2 separate regions of the Homo sapiens genome follow, and region 1 is linked to region 2. Evidence: promoter capture Hi-C in 16 types of primary human blood cells and fetal thymus (Javierre and others, 2016). All regions are on one chromosome and are shown on one strand. Each heading gives the region's core, a stretch centred on a gene start or on the middle of the fragment in contact. The rest is flanking DNA. Distances are from core to core; before and after follow the strand shown.

Region 1 (2,700 bases), core at 62-2,561, 1.5 Mb after region 2:
ACCAAACCACGAGCTCTAGTATGGAGGCTCATAATTCCTTTTAACGTCTAGGGCATGACCAATTGCAATAGAGAAAAAAGGAGTCCTCAAAAGTAGCCTTCCAAAAGATGAGGAGGGGAAACTACAGGGTATTTTCCTTCGTATTCCAATCACCGGAATTCCCTCCACCAGCATACTCTGCACAGCTGATTTTTGGCGACTTATTATCTGGGCAATTTTAACCATTTGGACTCCAAAAATCAAACACATTGAGGGAACACGCCACAAGTGTCAGCTAAGCTTCACAAGCGGTTTTCCAAACATCTCAGAGCTAGAGGGGTTGAGGGCACAGCGTTTTCCTGGGATCACATGTGCTGTCTGCCATACCACCTCTGCACTATTTGGCACCGATCTCCCTCACTGTTAAGGAAACACATGCTTAAAAACAACCGAGCAGTAGATGACCCAAACCTATTCCTCCCGTCCCCCGCAAACCCGGAGATGCAGGTGAACGGTGCATTTGAGAGCAGCAGCCTGAGAAGCAGCGTGAGACAAGGGCCCGGCTTGTCTGCCAAGAACCCCTGGGGCCCGAGACTGCTTCGAGCCACTCCATCCCATCCTGGCACGCGGGTGGCACTGCCAGGCGCCGCGGGGACCCGACAGGCGGCATCACGCACATACCTGCGGCAGGTGTGCGGAGCCGCCTTCTTCCGGGAAAGTGCTGGGTTGGGGGGATGATGGGGCGCTGGGGGGTGGATCCCGGCTGCGGGCTGCGCCCGGCCCTCAGCGCTGGGGACCCCCGCTGCGCGCTTTCTCCGCGCACCCCACGCGCGCCAGGAGGAGACCGCGCGCCCCACGCCCGTGGAGAGGAGGGGACGCGCTCCCCCCGGCTGCCGCCGCAGTGCCTCCCGGCCCCTAGTAGGGGGCGCGCCAGAGTGCCAGGCGTCGCTGCGAGGCCCCTCGGCCTCGCGGGACCCGCCGGGGCCCCTTCTTGCCCCTCGCCCTCACCTGGTTGAGGCAGTCCTCGCCGTTGGCTTTCGCCTCCACCTCCACCTCCATCAGCACCGCGTCCGGCCTCGTCACATAACACAGCATGGCTGGGGCTGCCGCTGCCGCCACAGCCGCCTTCTCTTTGGTGTGCGCGGGGCTGCCGCCTTGTCACTGGTGGGACCCAGCCCCGGACTCGGAGAGGGCTGGCCCTCGAAGGCTGCAGCTCTGCGGACCCTTGTCCGGGGCCCCGCGGCCGCCACTCGCGTCCCCGCCACCCCCTCACCCGCTGCCCGCCAGCTGCCCCTGTCCTCCGCGGTGGCGCCGCACTCCAGCAGCCCAACTGCCTGCGCTGCGACAGGGACTCTGCTGATATAGCGGCCCCGCCCCCTTCAGCTCGGGTCCCCGCCAATCACGGCCTCCCTGCCCCTCCTCCCCCGCCCGATCAGCCAATAGCGGCGCCCCTCGACCGCGGCCCCCGCCTCCCAGAGCCGGCTGAGTTTCCCTGGCCGCCCCGGGAGGTGGCAGCTTGCGGGCGCCGAGTGCTGCGGGAAGGGAGGGAGACCCCGGAACACACCAGCCGCCTCTGTCCGCTGGGCGACGCTGCTCAGAGTGAGCGATCGCCCGGGGCTCCAGGCGGGGACGCCTTTCTGCCGTCTCGAATTTACGGTGATTAAACACCTCCAAGCTGCCACTGTTCTTCAAATATCTTGGATCACTCTGAGCACGCATTTCGGTTGTGAAAGCAAAAAGGAAAAGGAGCAACCCAAAGCCTAAAGAAAACTGTTCTCGTCCGGGCATGGTGGCTCACGCCTGTAATCCCAGCACTTTGGGAGGCCGAGATGGGTGGATCACCTGAGGTCAGATTCGAGACCAGCCTGGCAAACATGGTGAAACCCCCGTCTCTACTAAAAATACAAAAAAAAAAACAAAATAGCCAGGCGTGGTGGCGGGCACCTGTAATCCCAGCTACCTGGGAGGCTGAGGCAGGAGAATCGCTTGAACCCAGGAGGCGGAGGTTGCAGTGAGCTGAGATTGTGTCACTGCACTGTAGCTTGGGCAAGAAGAGCAAAAAACCCTGTCTCAAAAAAAAAAAAAAAAAAAAAAAAAAAAAGAAAAGAAAAAGAAAAAAGAAAAAAAAAAGAGAAAAAGAAAACTCTTTTCCACCAGGATTAGCCACAGTGGGTTGCTTGGAGGCAGAATTGTTGTTCCTTATTAAGACCTCATCATTGAGAAAAACAAAATCTGAGTATGAAAGTTTTTGCAGCTGACCAGTGAGCCAGGTGTCTTGGTCTAGTGCTGGTGTGTTACACTCCGGAAGGGCTTCTCCTTACTCGTTCTGCTGAATCAAAACGCCTTACAGGGTACCAGGCCCTCTCTCAGGTTGCTCATTCTACCTCCTGTCTTATCTCACTCATTCATTAAACATTTGTGCAGCACCTGATACCCTGCCTGTCCCTTCTCACAGGCAACCAGATGTTGTCCTCGTCTTAAGGTAAGGTGCTCATCTCCTGACCTAACAGGTGGCATTACTGCAATATTAGCTATTAAAGGTCTACAACCCTTCACTCATTTACCGCTTGTTCCTCTTTGCCAATATATTACATAGCCTACCTTTTTGATTTCTTTATAGGAGCCAGATGATGTGGGTTTCAGCCGTGGAAACTTAGCAAACTTACTTCAGGCCAGCTCGATGGCTCACACCTGTAATCCCAGCACTTTTGGAGGCCGAGG
Region 2 (2,700 bases), core at 38-2,537:
ATCAAAACTTCCTAACTCCACTTGTATCCATGTCGATCTCCTTTTATATCCGTTCAGTTCCACTGTCCTAAGTAGCCAATGTCTGAATAATTTTCAGCATTACCAGTCGAGCCCCTCCAAAAGTGGGTTTGCCATTTGCGAATTTAGCTTTGGCCCTCACTGCAGAGCGTGAAAACCAAAGGAAGAGGATGGTTTGAAGAGCAATTTCTTTTCACGAATAAACAACTAGTCCCATGAGTAAGGGAGTCAATTTGGAGTGCCAGGTCTAAAGGAAGAAGAAACTGTATTGCCTCCTTGTACATTTTGGGAATTTAGGGCCTGGACAAACGATAGCTAGTGAACTGAACGGGCAGGATAGTCAATCAGAGTAGAAGCAGCAGTTACAGGTCTAAAAAGCGTGCCAGCTCTACCCCACAGGCCCCCGAAAACCCTTCTACTCCGCCCAGCCTCCACCTCGCGCTTCTCACCTGCCTGTCGCCCGGTCTCGCTCGGGCTTCGCGAAGGGGCTGCGGATCCTACCCTCGTCACTGGAGTGGCCCGGACCGACGCCTGCACGTGAGGAGCCCGGGGTCCCAGGCCCGCGACTGGAGCAGGGGTGCTGATGCCGGCAGCTGTCCGCGGGTCAGGCCCCGCGGCCCCGGGGCTCAGGAAGTAGAAGGGGTTGTAATAGCCCAGCTGCGGGGGCGGCGGCGCCGCGGCCTGGGGGACTGCAGCGCCGCCCGAAGGGAAGCTCTGCGGGGAGGGCTGGGGGCTGCAGTAGGCTGGGAAGGCGGCCAGGCCGCTGTGCCAGGTGAGGTAGCCGCAGTAGGACTGCCACAGCCACTCGTGCACTTGCCGGGAGTACTCGCGGGCGCTCAGCCGAGCTGGTCTCTCTCGTGGCGCCGCGGCTTCGGGCGCCTCGCAGCCCGCCTGCTCCTGCAGCTCTGCACCGGAGCCGGAGGCCGCCTCCCCGCGCTTCCTGAGCTCGCGCGGCGGCTCCAATTTGTCGGCTGCGGCGGCAGCCGCGAGGCCCGGGGCTGTGGGCCGGCCCGGGGCCTGGGGTTCGGCCTGGGGGTCGTCGCGGGGGCATGGGACGGCGGTGGTAGGAGGGCCTCTCAGGGAAGGGACGGGCTCGTGGTCCCCTCCGCCATCGTCCTGCCCGGGAGGGTGGCCTCGGGCTTCCTCGGGCCCCTCGGCCATCGTCGCCTCAGCAGCACCCTCTGGGATACCTGTCACTGCTCCGTTTCCCTCCCCCAATGGCCCCTCCCCAACAGCCCCGTCACCACCGCAGCAACCGCAGGCGTCAACAATCCCCCGCCGGAAGCGGAAGCCCCGCCCCTCAGGAGCAACGCCCGCCGCCAGGCGGAGCTGGGAAGGGAGGGCGGGGAGGTGCGTCTGCAGTCCCGGGTTCGGGCCCTAGTAGTCGGTGGCTGGTCGGTGACTGGGACCAGACCGTCGCCTCCTCCCTTTTACAGCTTTAAGTCTGTGACCCGAGGCCTCTCTGTATATTCCCGTGGGGTTGGGCCTAGTTGTCCTGGGAGAAACTAGATGGATGAGGAGTATTTCCGAGACAGGTCCCAGGGCCAGCGCAGCCTTTTCTGTTGCAGAACCGCGACTGTTGTTTTGGGATCCAGGCCGGAGGGTTTGTTGCTTGTGTTCATTCCAGTTAACCATTAGTACTCGAGAAGGTGGTACAGAACGCATCTATCCCCTTAGAAGAAAAGAAATTAAAAGCCAAACTAAACTGGGATATATATTAATATAGGAAACTACCACTGAGACATAGGAAAGTGTATTAAAATATAACTAGTGAGGTGCTATGTATAATTCAGAGGAAGGGGAAATTATGCATGGGCCAGACTACTAACAAAAGGCTCCAAAGCCTGGGATACGCTGAGGGCCTTTCCATAACAGAAAATGAAAAGGAACCTAAATTTGAGACTAGATTTGAGGAAAGGCACAGTTGCGCTGGAGTAGAAAGCGTCTGTCTACCGCAGTGGAAAGTAAGTTTTCGTAAATGCAGACTAGCTCCAGGGTGAGGACAGAATCTAGCTTTTAAATCAGTATAATCTCTCTTCTTTTACATTTGAAAATCTCTGCAGCGATATGTTATTGTATCCCCAGCACCATACAAAGGACATACAAGGGCCAAATACTGTGGGAATATTTATTAATGATATTAATGATGATGCTGTCCGGGCCAAAGGAAAACTTCCGCTTCACCTTCTGAAGTTTCGCTGAAAGTCACTGACAGGAGGCAGTTAATAGGAGAAAAGACATAGACATTGATTTGACCATCGTTTTATGTGACACGGGAGCCTTCAGAATGAAGACCCAAAGATAACAAGGGAAATCGTGTATTTGTATGCTTAGGTTCAACAAAGCATGGACAGCCGTATAAAAAAATGACTGGACAAGGCCGGGCGCGGTGGCTCACGCCTGTAATCTCAGCACTTTGGGAGGCTGAGGCGGGCGGATCACAAGGTCAGGAGATCGAGACCATCCTGGCTAACACAGTGAAACCCCGTCTCTACTAAAAATACTAAAAATTAGCCAGGCGTGGTGGCGGGCGCCTGTAGTCCCAGCTACTCAGGAGGCTGAGGCAGGAGAATGGCGTGAACCCGGGAGGCGGAGCTTGCAGTGAGCCGAGATTGCGTCACCGCACTCCAGCCTGGGCGACAGAGCGAGACTCCGTCTCAAAAAAAATGACTGGACAAAAAA

Evidence for each region. Contacts are between HindIII fragments. The CHiCAGO score rates a contact against its expected background, and 5 or more counts as called.
Region 1: a contact is called between the fragment with the promoter of MYLIP here and the fragment with the promoter of FAM8A1 in region 2, in 1 of 17 cell types (non-activated CD4 T cells). The highest score is 5.2, in non-activated CD4 T cells.

Annotation. Positions count from the first base shown.
Region 1 is chr6:16,127,697-16,130,396 of GRCh38, reverse strand. It overlaps MYLIP (myosin regulatory light chain interacting protein), which reads right to left and starts at 1,311. Exons shown (of 7, transcript NM_013262.4): 1 at 988-1,311. The coding sequence starts at 1,074. RefSeq lists a silencer at 630-1,629. The HindIII fragment of the contact is 2,730 bases long and covers 282-2,700 here.
Region 2 is chr6:17,598,889-17,601,588 of GRCh38, reverse strand. FAM8A1 (family with sequence similarity 8 member A1) reads right to left here and starts at 1,287. Exons shown (of 5, transcript NM_016255.3): 1 at 468-1,287. The coding sequence starts at 1,179. It overlaps LOC102724591 (a long non-coding RNA gene), which reads left to right and starts at 2,613. Exons shown (of 5, transcript XR_007059485.1): 1 at 2,613-2,700. RefSeq lists a silencer at 949-1,428. The HindIII fragment of the contact is 5,181 bases long and covers 1-2,700 here.